Linked DNA regions of Homo sapiens: regions 1, 2 and 4 are each linked to region 3. The links are contacts of gene promoters, found by promoter capture Hi-C in human tissues and cell types (Jung and others, 2019). All regions are on one chromosome and are shown on one strand. Each heading gives the region's core, a stretch centred on a gene start or on the middle of the fragment in contact. The rest is flanking DNA. Distances are from core to core; before and after follow the strand shown.

Region 1 (4,100 bases), core at 490-2,989, 340 kb after region 3:
GTTAGCCAGGATGGTCTTGATCTCCTGACCTTGTGATCCGCCCGCCTCGGCCTCCCAAAGTGCTGGGATTACAAGTGTGAGCCACCGTGCCCAGACTTTTTTTTTTTTGAGACGGAGTCTCGCTCTGTCACCAGGCTAGAGTGCAGTGGCGCAATCTCGGCTCACTACAACCTCCGACTCCCTGGTTCAAGCGATTCTCCTGCCTCAGCCTCCCAAGTAGCTGAGATTATAGGCACGTGCCACCACGCCCAGCTAATTTTTGTATTTTTAGTATAGACGGGGTTTCACCATGTTGGCCAGGATGGTCTCGATTTCCCGACCTCGGGATCCGCCTGCCTCGGCCTCCCAAAGTGCTAGGATTACAGGCGTGAGCCACTGAGCCCGGCCAGAGACTCAAGCTTTCTTATTAGGTTGGTGCAAAAGTAATTGCATTTTTTGCCATTTAAAAAAATGGCAAAAAATCACAATTTCTTTTGCACCAACCTAATACTATTCTAGTCAAATAGGAATAATAACTTATTTCCAGGAAGGAAAAGACTGTTTCCCTACTTCCCTTGGGAAATCCATTAAAGATACTCTGACCTAGCTTTACAAGTCTATACCAGAAATTTGGTAAGTTTAAGGACACAGAATATAGCTTATATATTGCTCTTCAATCCTATTTTTTCCCCGAAACCTGAGAACATCTGTTTTCTTTTCTTTTTCTTTTTTTTTTTTTTTGAGATGGAGTCTCGCTCTGTCGCCAGGCTGGAGTGCAGTGGTGCAATCTTGGCTCACTGCAACCTCGCCTCCAGGGTTCAAGTGATTCTCCTGCCTCAGCCTCCTGAGTAGCTGGGGACTAGAGGCGTGCACCATCACGCCCAGCTAATTTTTGTATTTTTAGTAGAGACGGGTTTTCACCATGTTGGCTAGGCTGGTCTCAAACTCCTGACCTCAAATGATCCGCCTGCCTTGGCCTCCCAAAGTGCTGGGATTATAGGTGTGAGCCACTGCACCCAGATGAGAGCATCTGTTTTCACAGCATCTACAGAGGTTTCCATAAATAAAATTAAGTTGGCTTTAGTCTTGTTTTGCTTTTATTTTTTAAAAGTAATTTTAGTTATTTTATTTTTTATTTTATTTTATTTTTAGACAGTCTTGCTCTATCGCCCAGGCTGGAGTGCAGTGGGGCAATCTTGGGTCACTGCAACCTCTGCCTCCTGGGTTCAAGCAATTCTCATGCCTCAGCCTCCCAAGTAGCTGGGACTACAGGCATGAGCCACCATACCCGGCTAATTTTTGTATTTTTAGTAGAGACAGGGTTTCAAGATGTTGGCCAGGCTGGTTCAAACTCCTGGCTTCAAGTGATCACCTGCCTCAGCCTCCCAAAGTGCTGGGATTACAGGCATGAGCGACCATGCCCAGCCAATTTTAGGTTATTTTAGATACTAGTCTCATGGAATAGAAAATAATCTTTTAACTCTATATTCCTAAAAATTAAAAAAATAAAAATAAACAGTATTAGAAGCTAACCACTTATTTTGTAATACTACGTATCAAATACTGGGTGATGTGTTTTATATTCATTACCTTATTTAATCTTCCCAACAACCGTCTGAATTTAGGTACTATTAATATATTCATTGTATCAATAACGACACTACTGAGACTTAAAGAGGTTAATTAACTTGTCTAATACAAAGTAAAAACCGTTATCAAAAGCCATGTCTATAAAATTCACCAGATATTTTCAGGAGCTGGAGCCTGAGAATGACAATTAACAGTCAGCTTATATAATTCATTACGACTCTCACTCATCCATAAAAGAACAGTCTAGGCTGGGCGCAATGGCTCATGCCTGTAATCCTAGCACCTTGGGAGGCTGAGGTGGGTGGATCACGAGGTCAGGAGATCGAGACCATCCTGGCCAACGTGGTGAAACCCCGCCTCTACTAAAAATACAAAAATTAGCTGGGCGTGGCAGCATGTGCCTATAATCCCAGCTACTCGGGGGGCTGAAACAGGAGAATCGCTTGAACCTAAGAGGCAGAGGTTACAATGAGCTGAGATTGCACACTACACTCCACCCTGGCGACAGAGCTAGACTCCTTCTAAAAAAAAAAAAAAACTATATAAAATGAATTTTTCTACTACAAGCTTAGTGAAGTATACAATTTTCTTTTTTATCTTTTTTTTTTTGAGACAGAGTCTAGCTCTGTCATCCAGGCTAGAGTACAGTGGCATGATCTCAGTTCACAGCAACCTCTGCCTCCCAGGTTCAAGTGATTCTCGTGCCTCAGCCTCCCGAGTACCTGGGATTACAGGCATGCACCACCATACCAGGCTAATTTTTTGTATTTTTAGTAGACATGGGGTTTCACTGTGTTGGCCAGGCTGGGCTTGAACTCCTGGCCTCAAGTGATCCACCTGCCTCAGCCTCCCAGAGTGCTGGGATTATAGGCGTGAGCCACCATGCCCAGACGAGGAAAACATCTATTTTCACAGCATCTACAGAGGTTGGGCGCATGAGCCACCATGCCTGGCGCAATAGTTTAAATACCTTAAAGACAGCTCCTTGGATACAGTTAATTGAATACAAGACAGTAAATAGCCAAAGCCAAACAGAAATACCTTGGGCATTATCCATAATTTCAAAGTATTAGTCCTTTTCTATTCCTTAAAAATGCAGATTAACTACTAAAGAACATAAAACTGTAGTGCCTGCCACAGTGTTCAGTTAATCAGTAGTCAATATTTATGGAGTGAATATGACAAATATTTATTCAGAACCAAACCAGGAAAAAAGTTACCTGTTGGAAGCTGTCTCTTAGAAGCTGCTGGTCTTCAGGATGACAGAATTCTACAATATTCTTTCCTAAGAGTTCCTAGAATACAGAAAGAAGAGTAAGATATATACTTTTTTTTTTTTAAGATGGAGTTTCGCTCTTGTTGCCCAGGCTGGAGTACGATGGCGCGATCTTGGCTCACTGCAACCTCCACCTCCTGAGTTCAAGCAATTTTCCTGTCTCAACCTCCCAAGTAGCTGGGATTACAGGGGTGTGCTACCACACCTGGCTAATTTTGTATTTTTTTAAATAGAGACAGGGTTTCACCATGTTGGTCAGGCTGGTCTCGAACTCCTGACCTCAAGTGATCCACCCGCCTCGGCCTCCCAAAGCGCTGGGATTACAGGTGTGAGCCACCGTGCCCAGCCAACATATATAATTTTATGGTCATCTAACTGGCCTGGTCCATCAGCTGGGGACCTGGATTTTATTTCTTCTGTTTTAATCCTAAGATTATAGTTAAGTGAGGAGGAGAAAAAAAAAAGACAATAAACAAAAGATGAAATCTACTAAAAAAAGGCAGAATCTGTTAAGGAGCTGGCTTCTAAAACATTTTTCTTTCTCAGAATATTATACATTTATTTTAATGAGATTATAAATTTTAGATAAAATTTACATTCATAATTCAGCCATTCTAAGTGTATGATTTGATGATGTCTACTAAATTTATAGTTGTGCAATGATTACCACAATCCAGTTTCAGAACACATTCACTGCCCCAAGATGTTCCCTTGTGCCATCTGCAGTCAATCTCTGCTCCCACTCCAACTCCCCAGCCAACCACAAATCTGCTTTCTGCCTCTCTAGTTCTGCTATTTCTACAAATTTCATATAAATAAAACAACATAATATGTGGTCTTTTGGGTCTGGCTTCTTTCATTGAGCATGGTATTTTTGAAGTTCATCTACATGGCTGCATTATCAGTAGTTTATTCCTTTTTATGCTCAGTAGTATTCTCACATGGATACAACACAGTTGTGTATTCATTTACAAAATGTTAATGGACGTTTAAATAGTTTTCATTTTTTTGGCTATTATGAATAATACAGATATGAACTGTGTACAAATCTATGGGTGAACATGTTTTCATTTCTCTTAGGTAGATACTCAGGAATAAAATTGCTAGGTTATAGGCTAAGAGTATGTTTAACTTTGTAGGAAACTGCCAAAATGCTTTTGCAAAGCTAGTAGCTATACCATTTTACATGTCTATCAGCAATGTATGAGGGTTCCTTCCAGCTTCTACACATTTTCACCAATACTTTTTGATTACA
Region 2 (4,052 bases), core at 678-3,177, 420 kb after region 3:
ACCAGGTCACCTACTCACAGTTGGCCACAGCTGATTCATTAAATAGAGAAACACTTCACATTTTCCCCTTCCTTTCTTCCTGATCCTGTACAATGCAGAAGAAGAAGCCTGAAAAGGGAGAAGAGCTAATAGAACTCTAAATCCTCTATAAGATTAGGAATTTAAAACTGAACTAAGGTTTTACAAAAACCAGCTTTATTAAGATATAATTCACATACAATTCAACCATTTCAAATGTACAATTGAATGGTTTTTAGCACATTCACAGAAATGTTTTACCATTACCACAGTTGTAGAACATTTTTATCACCTCCAAAAGAAAACCTGTATCATTTAACTTTCACCCCCTCATCCCCCACCTCCAGCTCTAAGCAACCACTAATCTGTCTCTATAGATTTCTCTATTCTAGACTTACATGTGAATGGAATTATATAATATGCTGGGGGCGTTTGTGACTTGTTTCTTTCACTCAGCTTAATGCTTTAAGTTTCATCCAAGTAGTATGTACTTCCTTTTTATGGCCAATAATAGTCTATTGTGTAGACATACCACACTTTGCTTATCCATTTATAAGTTGATGGACATTTGAGTTGTTTCTACCTTTTGGCTATGATGAATAATGCTGCTACAAACATTCTTGTATAAGTTTTTGTGTGGTCACATGTTTTCATTTCTCCTGGGGACAGCCATAGGAGTGGAATTGCTGCGTCATATGGTGGCTTTTTTTTTTTTTTTTTTTTTTTGAGACGGAGTCTCGCACTCTCACCCAGGCTGGAGTGCAGTGGCGCAATCTTGGCTCACCGCAAGCTCCGCCTCCCAGGTTCACGCCATTCTCCTGCCTCAGCCTCCCGAGTAGCTGGGACTACAGGCACCTGCCACCACGCCCGGCTAATTTTTTGTATTTTTAGTAGAGATGGGGTTTCACCGTGTTAGCCAGGATGGTCTTGATCTCCTAACCTTGTGATCCACCCGCCTTGGCCTCCCAAAGTGCTGGGATTACAGGCGTGAGCCACCGTGCCCAGCCAGCTTTTTTTTTTTTTTTTAGACAGTGTCTCACTCTGTCACTCAGGCTGGAGTATGGTGGCATGATCAAAGCTCACTGCAGCCTCCCAGGCTCAGGTGATCCTCCCGCCTCTGCCCCCCAAGTAGCTGGGATTACAGGTGTGCGCCATCACATCTAACTAATTTTTGTATTTTCTGTAGAGAGGAAGGTTTGCCATGTTGCCCAGGCTGGTCTTGAACTCCTGGACTAAAGTGATCCTCCACCCACCTTGGCTGCCCAAAGTGCTGGGATTATAGGCGTGAGCCACCATACCTGGCCAGTAACTCTTATGTTTCATAATTTTAGGAACTTCCAGACTGTTTTCCAAAGTAACTTTGCCACTTTACATTCCCACCAACCGTCAATGAGGGTTTCAATTACTTTCTACCTTTGTCAACACTTAATCTGACTTGATTCTAGTCATCCTAGTGGGTGTGAAGTGGTATCTCAAAGTTTTGATTTCCATTTCCCTGATGACTAATTACGTTGACCATTTAAAAAATGTGTTTATTGGCCATTTGCATATCTTCCTTATGCAGAAAAAGAAATTTCTATTCATATCCTTTGCCTAATTTTTAATTGAGTTGTCTTTTCATTGTTTCGTTGTAACTTTGGTTATCAGGTCTCTCTCCGTCACCCAGGCTGGAGTACAGTGGTGCGATCATAGCTCACTATAACCCTGAACTCCTGGGCTCAAAGGATCCTTCTGCCTCAGCCTCTCCAGTAGCTAGGACCACACACATATGCCACACACCTAGCTAATTAAAAAAAAAAAAATTAAGAAACAAGGTATCTCCTTACTACCCAGGCTGGTCTCAAACTCCTGACCTCAAGTGATCCTCCCACCTCATCCTCCCAAAGTGCTGGTCAGGCATAAGCCACCGTGCCCAGCCCATTTTCTTGATAATAAGCTTCTTAAAGTACAAAAGTTGGCTGGGCGCAGTGGGTCACGCCTGTAATCCCAGCACTTTGGGAGGCCAAGGGGGGCAGATCACCTGAGGTCAGGAGTTTGAGCCCAGCCTGGCCAACATGGTGAAACCCGACTCTACTAAAAATACAAAACGTAGCCGGGCATGGTGGGGGCGCCTATAATCCCAGCTACTCGGGAGGGTGAGGCAGGAGAATCGCTTGAACCTGGGAGGCAGAGGTTGCAGTGAGCCGAGATCACGCCATTGCCCTCCAGCCTGGGCGACAGAGCAAGACTCCTTCTCAAAAAAAAAAAAAAAAAAAGTACAAAAGTGTTGACCAGGCACAGTAGCTCATACAATCCTAACACTTTGGGAGGCTAAGGAGGGCAGATCTCTTGAGCCCAGGAGTTTGAGACCAGCCTGGGCAACATGGTGAAACTCCATCTCTACCAAAACAAACAAACAAAAAACAATTAGCCGGGCATGATGACGTGCACCTGTAGTCCCAGCTACTTGGAAGGTTGAGATGGGAGGATCAATTTAGCCTGGGAGGTCGAGGCTGCAGTGACCCCAGACGGCACCATAGCACTCCAGCCTGGGTGACAAAGTGAGACCCTGTCTCAAAGAAAAAAGTTTTAAATTTTGATGAAGTCCAGTTTCTCTCTTTTTTGTTGCTCGTGATTTTGCTGTCATATCTAAGAATCCTTACATTTAGGTCTTTGATCCATTTTAAGTTTATCTTTGTATGTGGTGTGAAATTGTTACCAAAACACCAGGAGTTCGGTCTAGGTCCTGCTGCTCACCACACAGAAAGATGAGCAATACCTGCCCCTGAGATGACAGGTATTGCCAAAGAAGAAGGCTTTACTCAGGTGCTGCAGCAGAGGAAACCGGAACTCAGTCACAAATCCATCTCCCTGACCAACTAAAATTAGAGGTTTATATAGCAAGGAAGAAATGTAACAATGTGTAGGAAAACAGGAACTCAGGAGGCCAAGAAAGCACTTGTGACCAATGAGGGGTCTTGCACTTCATTGTCAGGATGGGATGATCTGGTTGAGTTTCAGTTCCTTGATACTTTTTTTGAGAGGCCTGGTGGCCCTTTCCTGAAGAAGGAACTCAACATAAAACAAATGTAAGTTTTAAGCTTTAAGACCAGAAGGTCAATTTCTTTTTCTTTTTTCTGTTTTTTTTTTTTCTTTTTTTTTTTTTTTGAGACGGGTCTCCATCTGTCACCCAGGCTGGAGTGCAGTGGCATGATCTCAGCTCACTGCAACCTCTGCCTCCCAGGTTCAAGCAATTTTCCTGCCTCAGTCTCCTGAGTAGCTGGGATTACAGGTGTGTGCTACCACACCCAGCTAATTTTTATATTTTTAGTAGACATGGGGTTTCGCCATGTTGGCCAGGCTGGTCTCAAACTCCTGACCTCAGGTGATCCGCCCTCCTCGGCCTCCCAAAATGCTGGTATTATAGGCGTGAGCCACCACGCCCAGCAAGAAGGGTCAATTTCTGTTGAAACAAAAAAAACTATGGGACTATTGGGTTCATTTCAAAATAAGGGTCTAACTTAATTCTTTTGCATGTGGCTATCCAGTTGTCCCAGCACCATTTGTTTTCTTTCCTCACCGAATTTTCTTGGTACCCTAGTTTAAAATTACTTGGTCATAGATACATGGGTTTATTTCTGGACTCTCAATTTTTTTTTTTTTTTTTTTGAGACAGAGTCTCACTCTGTCGCCCAGGCTCGAGTGCAGTAGCATGCTCTCGGCTCACTGCAACCTTTGCCTCCTGGTTTCAAGTGATTCTCCTGCCTCAGCCTCCCAAGTAGCTGGGGCTACAGGCATGCATCACCATGCCTGGCTAATTTTTGTATTTTTTTTTATTTTTTGAGACAGAGTCTCGCTCTGTCACCCAGGCTGGAGTGCAGTGGCGTGATCTCGGCTCACCGCAAGCTCTGCCACCTGGGTTCATACCATTCTCCTGCCTCAGCCTCCGGAGTAGCTGGTACTACAGGTGCCCACCACCACGCCCAGCTAATTTTTTGTATTTTTAGTAGAGACGGGGTTTTACCGTGTTAGCCAGGATGGTCTCGATCTCCTGA
Region 3 (4,051 bases), core at 1,427-3,926:
TGATTGATCGGCATCCCCTCAGCACCCAGCTCACTGCATTGCACACAGTAAGCAGTTAGTAAATGAGAGCATCAAATCAATACCGTGATTGGTACATACTTGATTCAATAATTATTGGGCACCTACCATTTTGTTGCCTGCAATACACCTTTCCCCTTTTGGTGCAGAGGCATGAGAAGAATTCTGCCTGTTGCCACCCTTTCTGAATGCCATTTAAAAATTCTTAACTACCTTCTCCAAACCACACACACACAAGTTATCTTCCTCTCCCACACTCTTGTCTCTTTCTCTTTGTATTTCAGGGTGTCTACCAGAAGATGGACCCAAGATCCATGGAGGCTCCTGTGACTCAGATCAACTGCCCTGCCCGGGAAACCTGGTCTCTCCGGAAACCTTGATTAAACTGCTTTTTCTGACACCTCTTCCTCTACAACCCTTGATTCTATCACCATTGAAACTTCAGAACCAACTCTAACCATCCCCACCTCCAGGTGAGGGGACTAATGAGAATTACTGACAGCCTGATGGCTACCCCCAAGTCAGTTTCCCTTCATACTTTACTACAAATCTGACCATGTTCCCATATTTACTGAGTAAATTTGATGAAATTTACCTAGTCCTGTGTCCTAGATGTATCAGGGAGAGGGAAGAGAAAGGATAAAGGAAGTTGAGAGCTGGGATAGGAATTAGAGGCAAAGGGCTTATGTAGGGAGCAGAGAGCTAAAATTCTAGTCAGGCACCTCTTTCTGAGGTGATGGGGGAGTATACTGGGAGCAAACTCTTCTAGAGAAAGCATGGTGTGGTAAAAGAAAACCAAGCTTGGATTCAGAAATCACCATCAGCACTTGCTGTTTGACCTTAAATTCCTCATCTGTCAGATTAAAAGGTCTCGGCCGGGCATGGTGGCTCACGCCTGTAATCCCAGCACTTTGGGAGGCTGAGGCAGGCGGATCACCTGATGCTGGGAGTTCGGGACCAGCCTGACCAACATGGAGAAACCCTGTCTCTACTAAAAATACAAAATTAGCTGGGCCTGGGGTGGCACATGCCTGTAATCCCAGCTACTCGGGAGGCTGAGGCAGGAGAAGCGCTTGAACCTGGGGAGGCGGAGGTTGCGGTAAGCCGAGATCACGCCACTGCACTCCAGCCTGGGCAACAAGAGTGAAACTCCATCTCAAAAAAAAAAAAAAAAGATTAAAAGGTCTATAAAGTCCCTATTAAGCACCATGAGTATAAAGGGACTCAAACTGACCTCTGCAGATTCTTGATTCCAGCTTTTTTGTTTTTGTTTTGTTTTGAGATGAAGTCTCGCTCTTGTCCCCCAGGCTGGAGTGCATGGCGTGATCTCGGCTCACTGCAACCTCCACCTCCCGGGTTCAAGCGATTCTCCTGTCTCAGCCTCCCAAGTAGCTGGGATTACAGGCGCCCACCACCATGCCCAGCTAATTTTTGTATTTTTAGTAGAGACGGGGTTTCACCATGTTGGCCAGGCTGGTCTAGAACTCCTGACCTCAGGTGATCCACCCGCCTCGGCCTCCCAAGTAGCTGGGATTACAGGCGCCCACCACCACGCCCAGCTAATTTTTGTATTTTTAGTAGAGACGGGGTTTCACCATGTTGGCCAGGCTGGTCTAGAACTCCTGACCTCAGGTGATCCACCTGCCTCGGCCTCCCAAAGTGCTGGGATTACAGCGTGAGCCACTGCGCGCGGCCATCTTTGCTCCAGCTTTAAAGTGGTTACTCCAGAGGCTGAGGTGGTCAGTTGAGCCCAGGAGGTCGAGACTGCAGTGAGCCATGATTGTACCCCTGCACTCCAGCCTGGGCAACGGTGAGACCTTGTCTCAAAATTAAAAAATAAAACTGTTACAGTCATTTATCATAATAGCTTCTTGTTGCTTTTGCCCATTACCAAAAAACCATGGGCCACACTAGACGATTTACATAAAATTTAACTCAACAATTGGGAGCAACACTATTCTCATTTTATAGTTGAGAAAATTGAGGCTTAGAGAAATTAAATAGGTCAGGCAAGGCGGCTCATGCCTGTAATTCCAGAACTCTGGGAGGCCGGAGCGCGGTGGCGGTTTGGTGGGGGGGAGGGGAGGGATTGCTTGAGGCCAGGAGTTCGAGACTACCCTGGCCAACATAGTGAGACCCGCCCCCCCCTCCCGCCCCCCCCGGTCTCTATTAAATAAATATGAGAAGTTTAATAATTTTCCCAAAATTACATAGTTAATGGCAGATCCAGAATTTACACTAGGTCTGTCTGGTTCCCCAGTCTATGCTCTTAAGTTTTGCTACTTGCTGTAAGGACCACGTAAAATAAAATGTATAGTTAAAGGGAAATTACTACCATTTCCTGTCTGGTTTTCTCCCACTCTCGCCCTCAAAAGTTCACCTGCCCTTGTCCTCAAAGCCACAGGACGCCTAATTGCTATTTTTGGGTTTCAGCTGAAACGCCACGGGTCTGGGGGAATAGCGAGGGTGTGTTACATTTTCGGTCTTCCGGTCAGCCGGAACCACTCACACCGCTGCTGGTGCTGTGTAGGGTGTACCTCTTCGGAGTTCCTGGAGGTGGTGCCAGACTAGAGTGGCAGCTGTAGTAACCAATAGACACGGACTTTGTTGGACCAGAAGCCAATGAAGAATTACGTGGAGGAGAAGCGGCGATAATCTGTTTGAGGATGTAGGCACTGGTGTGAAGGAACATGGCCCTGTATCAGAGGTGGCGGTGTCTCCGGCTCCAAGGTTTACAGGCTTGCAGGCTACACACGGTGCGTGAGGCACCCCCAAAGCTCCGATCCGCATCAGACTTAGCCCAGCCGAAGCCCCCAAATTTTTATGTTAACCCAGCCTCACGCCACTCCTCCTCTCCCTGGTCCTCCGAGTCCCCAGAAAAGGACTCGTATCTAAACTCGTTATCTAATTCTCGAGTTAGCGGTCTGGGGGACTCTGAGCTCGAAGGACCCCCAGCCTAGGGTCTTGTATCACCCAATCCCCTTAAAAAGTAGGAATTCGGACGAAGTCCACTTAACCATCCCAAAGTGCCATCATCTGCAATTCTAAGAAAGAATGATGGGACGTGTGTTACCTGCTAATATATCTTTCCCTCCAGGCAGTTGTGTCGACCCCTCCACGCTGGTTGGCAGAGCGGCTTGGCCTTTTTGAGGAGCTGTGGGCTGCTCAGGTAAAGAGATTAGCAAGCATGGCACAGAAGGAACCCCGGACTATTAAGATATCACTTCCTGGAGGCCAGAAAATTGATGCTGTGGCATGGAACACAACCCCCTACCAACTAGCCCGGCAGATCAGGTAACAGGCCCATCCTGTAACTACCAGGATTATCCTTCTGCCCCTTTACTTTCTCTTCACTTGAGCAGGGGAAGAAAACTTGGTCTGCTTGTTTCTGTTCCGTCCCCATTAAGATAGCCTTTCCTGAAGATTTTGTTTTTGTTTTTTGTTGTTGTTCTTTTATACAGACGGGGTCTCTCCATGTTGCCCAGGCTAGTCTTGAACTCCTGGGCTCAAGCGATCCTTCCATCTCAGCCTCCCGAAGTGCTGGGATTACAGGCATGAGCCACCAAACCCGGCCTGAGATTTGTTTTATCTGTATTAGTTTCTGCATCAGAGTCTCTGTCCTTTCATTGGGGAAAGAAATGAAAGCTTCTGTTGCTCTGGTAACTCATTTCACCTTTGCAAGTTTACAGTTGCTGAGAGATGAGCAACTTTCTCCCCACTGTGGATTGTAACCCTGTCTGTTTTAAATCATTAATTTACTTTTTAATAATTGATACATAATAATTGAACATATGAATGGGTATATGTGATATTTTGATATATGCATACAATATGTAATGATCAAATCAGGGTGTTCAGGATATCTGTTACCCCAAACATTTATCATTTCTTTGTGTTGGGACTATTTCAAATCTTCTAGCTATTTTGAAATATACAATAAATTATTATTAACTGTATTCACCCAACTCTGCTATGGAACATTAGAGCATATTCCTTCTGTCTAACTCTATTTTTGTACCCATTAGCCAACCTC
Region 4 (4,113 bases), core at 1-2,500, 280 kb after region 3:
ACACCCAGCTTAAATATTTACTGAAAACACTGCCTGTAAGAACACAATTTTAAGAGGTAGAAAACAGTACTCCTTTAAAAGCATATCGCTCGAGTGGCAATCCAATCTACCTTTTCCTTGTATTGTTTGCCATAGGTTTTCTTCCAGAGATGCCAGTGGTGATCCAGGGTAGGATCTTTATGCAACTGTGCCACTGCAGAGGAGCACACCAAGAGCACACAAACCAGCCGTTTCATTCTGTGTAAGGAAAGGTAACATAGGAAGTGTTGCTATTAGCTGCATATGTTGTGACCACATGTTTTCATAAGAGAAAATAACAATGCAAAGTCTATCAAAGGGACAGACTATTATAAACAGAATTATACAGGAAAATTCCTGGGATATATAGTCACAGGGAACAGCTGCAGATTTATGTCAGAAATACTACTTCCAATGCTTAGTAGCACTTTAAAAAGTGATTTCCAGGAATTTCCCAATATCTGGTAAACCAAACACATCTAGAGGGTTAGAAAACAGGGACTTTCCAGGATTTGCCAACAAATCTAATCAAAGGAAATCTCTTTCTCTCTCTCTCAAAAAAAAAAAAAAATCATCCTTAAGAGAGACAAACCTCTGAAAAATCAGTTTATCTCCTGAATTTTTGAATACATGGGCTCTTCTTAACTGACCTGTTTAAATATCCACAGTCTTTACAGATAGTTAAAAGACAATTCTCATCTATTGCTTTCACATCTTTAGGTAGGTAATTTTCCTTTTTACGTTTTTTTTTTTTTAATGATCAGACATCTGTTTCAAATGAGGCAATTAACTACTCTTTAAAATGCCACTTCTGTATTTAATTCAAGAGACATCAACAGAAATTCAGCGACTAGCTCCCTCAAACTGGATTCTACTTTCTTTTCCATTTCTTTTTAATTGAAAACATCTGGAATTTTAAACATGTAAGCCTTTAAATTATATTCCAAAGAAAGCCATGTTTCAGTCTCAACTTAGATGCTTAGATGCTCAAGCAGACATTAACTTTTTAAAAATAGAGAAGAGGCAAATTGAACGACACGATTTTTTAGTTTACTTCCTGAAACCAAAGATTTAAAACCTAGCAGGCAGAACAAGTTACAAACACAGAGTGTTTGAAGACCAAATGGGAGAAAAAGAACAAAGAGTACATACGTGATAGAACCAGCAGTTGCTCCCACAGTAAGAGTCCTTGAATTAGTGGGCTCTCTTCTAAGATTTCAAAGCAACAAGGAGATTTCAGTTCAATTGACTTGAAAAGAAATTGGAACTTGTCACATGAGGTACTCAAAATGAGGAAGTGAACTTTCATTTCAGTTTCATTTAAAATCTAGCTAGTACAGTCACCTCTAGTCATTTCCCTATGGTCTTGGGGACAAAGTGGATACAGTAAGCCATCAAGAAGAGCCCTTGTCTGAGCCCAGTGGCTCATGCCTATAATCCCAGCACTTTGGGAGGCTGAGGCGGGAGGATCACTTGAGGCCAGGAGTTCAAGACCAGCCTAGGCAATATAGTGAGACCCTGTCTCTGCAAAAAAATTTTTTTTAATTAGCTGGGCATGGTGGTGCATGCTTGTAGTCCCAGCTGAGGGGGAGGGTGAGGTGGGAGAATTGCTTGAGTCTAGGAGGACAAGGCTGCAGTGAGCCATGATTATGCCACTGTGTTTCAGCCTGGATGACATATCAAGACCCTATCTCAAAAAAAAAATTAAATTGAATTTTAAAAACACCAACTTTTACATGGAAAACATTTAGTTATAAAGAGATTTAGATAAAGCTCCCCAAATCCCAGCTCCTTGTATGATTTCCTAGGAAAACCTGTCTTACTGCTTTTAACACAACTCATTCATGATCTGATATTGTCTGGTTCTCACTCAGCCATTCCTTCGTTCATCAAACTCAAAATGTCTTTATTAATATATACTATATGTATAGTTTAGTAATATGCGTGTGTGTGTGTGTGTGTGTGTGTATGTGTTAGTATATTCATGGAAAAAAGGATACACTCAAATATATCCAATTGAGAATGATTACCTGGGTGGGGTGGGAGCAAGACGAACTATCATCTTTTAAATTTGCATTTTCCTAATTACTAATGAGGTTGAGGATCTTTTCACACATTTATTGACCGTTTGAATTTTCTGTGAATTTCCTGTTCATCTTTTTTGCTCATTTTTCTATTGTATTGTTGCATTTTCTTAGTGATTTGTGGGAGGTGTGTGTGTGTGTGTGTGTTGTGTGTTTTCCGAGACGGAGTCGTGCTTTGTCTCCCATGCTGGAGTGCATTGGTGCGATCTTGGCTCACTGCAACATCCACCTCCCAGGTTCAAGCGATTCTCTGCCTCAGACTCCCAAGTAGCTGGGATTACAGGCACCTGCCAGCATGTCCAGCTAATTTTTGTATTTTTAGTAGAGACAGGGTTTCACCATCTTGGCCAGGCTGGTCTTGAACTCTTCACCTCGTGATCCACCCGCCTCAGCCTCCCAAAGTGCTGGGATTACAGGTGTGAGCCACCGTGCCCGGCCAAGGTGTATGTGTTTTAAAAATATATTCTGGCTTCTAATCTTTGACAGTTATATACCCTTAAAAACATCCTCCCTTAGTCTTCCACTTGTCTTTTATTTTATTTTTTCTTCCTTTGCATAAGCCTATGAAATTCCACTTGTCCTTTAGTCTTGTTTATAGTGAGTTTTTCTATATGAAATTTTTTTATGTTGAGGTAGAACATTTTATTCAGCTTTTCCGTATAATCAATCTATACTGTTTTTGTATAAGAAAATTTTCCTCATCCAAATGTAATAAAGATACACTCATCTTATTTTTATACTTTCAGAGAGTGTTTTATTTATCTTTTCTATGGCTACTGCTTTTAGGTGTTTAATTCACCTGGAATTTAGTTTTGTGTATGGTATGACGTAGGGAGCTTATTTTCTTTGTTTTCCAATTTTGATTCTACCTCTATTGTACACCAAATTCTCATACATAGATAGGTCAGTTTCTGAGCTCATGAAGCTGTTCTTTTTATCTTTTGCTACTTCAGTATCACACAGTTTTAATTAAAACAGCTTTGTAATATGTCTCCACGTATGGTAAGGCAAGTCATCTAGGCCACCCTATCTTTGTTCTTCTTTTTAAACATTGTCTTTGTATTTTGTACTTGTTAACTCTTCTTTATATGAATTTTTTGAATCAGTTTATCAAGTTCCCTGAAAAACTCTGTTGGAGTTTTTTGCTTTTTTCTTTTGGAGACAGGGTTTCATTCTGTCACCCAGGCTGGAGTGCAGTGATGCAATCATGGCTCACTGCAGCCTTGACCTCCTGGGCTCAAGTGATCCTCCCGCCTCAGCCTCTGGAGTGGCTGGGACTACAGGTGCACACCACCATGCCTGGCTGATTTTGTTTTTTGTTTTTTGTAGATAAGGGGTTTCACCATGTTGCCCAGGCTGGCCTCAAACTCCTGGGCTCAAGCAATCTGCCCACCTTGGCCTCCTGAAGTGCTGGGATTACAGGCATGAGCCCCCACATCTGGCTATTAGAGTTTTTATTTGAATATATGCATAAATTTAGGGAGAAGTAACATCATTATAATGTTGATTCATCTCAGCTGTAGTAGACATGTTTGTGTTTGTAGCCATACAGTTTTTTTTAAAAAGATACTGCTTATGGAAAATTTAAAACACATGTAAAAGTAAAAATAGTAGTAAAATGAGCTGCCGTGAAACCATTGTCTTGTTTCAACAATGATCAGTACATGGCCAATCTTATTTTATTTATATTCCCACTCTCACTACCTGAATTATATTAAATAAATTCTAGACATTCTGTCATTTCATACGTAAATGTCCCTGTGTGTGTCTTTAAAAGACAGAGACTATTAAACAAATATAATACCACAATACCATCATCACATCTAAAATAAATGAACAATAATTTTCTTTTTTTTTTTTTTCTGAGACAGAGTCTCACTCACTTGCCCAGGCTGGAGTGCAGTGGTGTGATCCCAGCTCACTGCAATCTCTGCCTGCCGAGTTCAAGCGATTCTCCTGCCTCAGCCTCCCAAGTGGCTGGGATTACAGGCATGTGCCATCACACCCAGCT

What was found. The method cuts DNA at HindIII sites, captures the fragments that hold promoters and counts their contacts. A contact is called where the count stands out against the background at its distance.
Region 1: a fragment that was not itself captured here is called in contact with the fragment with the promoter of TARS2 in region 3 in 1 of the 25 tissues and cell types used here (aorta).
Region 2: a contact is called between a fragment that was not itself captured here and the fragment with the promoter of TARS2 in region 3, in 1 of the 25 tissues and cell types used here (pancreas).
Region 4: a contact is called between the fragment with the promoter of CTSS here and the fragment with the promoter of TARS2 in region 3, in 1 of the 25 tissues and cell types used here (IMR-90 fibroblasts).

Annotation. Positions count from the first base shown.
Region 1 is chr1:150,823,754-150,827,853 of GRCh38, forward strand. It overlaps ARNT (aryl hydrocarbon receptor nuclear translocator), which reads right to left. Exons shown (of 22, transcript NM_001668.4): 13 at 2,790-2,864. Among named protein-coding and RNA genes, the nearest start is that of CTSK, 18 kb to the left of the region's middle. RefSeq lists an enhancer at 3,789-3,933 and a cis regulatory region at 3,861. The HindIII fragment of the contact is 6,293 bases long and covers 1-4,100 here.
Region 2 is chr1:150,906,984-150,911,035 of GRCh38, forward strand. All of the region lies in intron 1 of CTXND2 (cortexin domain containing 2), which reads left to right. It overlaps LOC107985204 (a long non-coding RNA gene), which reads right to left. Exons shown (of 3, transcript XR_001738231.2): 2 at 19-108. Among named protein-coding and RNA genes, the nearest start is that of SETDB1, 17 kb to the right of the region's middle. The HindIII fragment of the contact is 6,057 bases long and covers 1-4,052 here.
Region 3 is chr1:150,484,743-150,488,793 of GRCh38, forward strand. TARS2 (threonyl-tRNA synthetase 2, mitochondrial) reads left to right here and starts at 2,677. Exons shown (of 18, transcript NM_025150.5): 1 at 2,677-2,774; 2 at 3,116-3,312. The coding sequence starts at 2,709. LOC124904416 (a long non-coding RNA gene) reads left to right here. Exons shown (of 2, transcript XR_007066600.1): 1 at 1-47; 2 at 303-612. RefSeq lists enhancers at 2,502-3,008, 2,502-2,771. The HindIII fragment of the contact is 6,321 bases long and covers 1-4,051 here.
Region 4 is chr1:150,764,528-150,768,640 of GRCh38, forward strand. It overlaps CTSS (cathepsin S), which reads right to left and starts at 1,251. Exons shown (of 8, transcript NM_004079.5): 1 at 1,171-1,251; 2 at 111-237. The coding sequence starts at 236. RefSeq lists enhancers at 142-191, 1,122-1,266, 1,125-1,269 and cis regulatory regions at 1,194, 1,197. The HindIII fragment of the contact is 11,511 bases long and covers 1-4,113 here.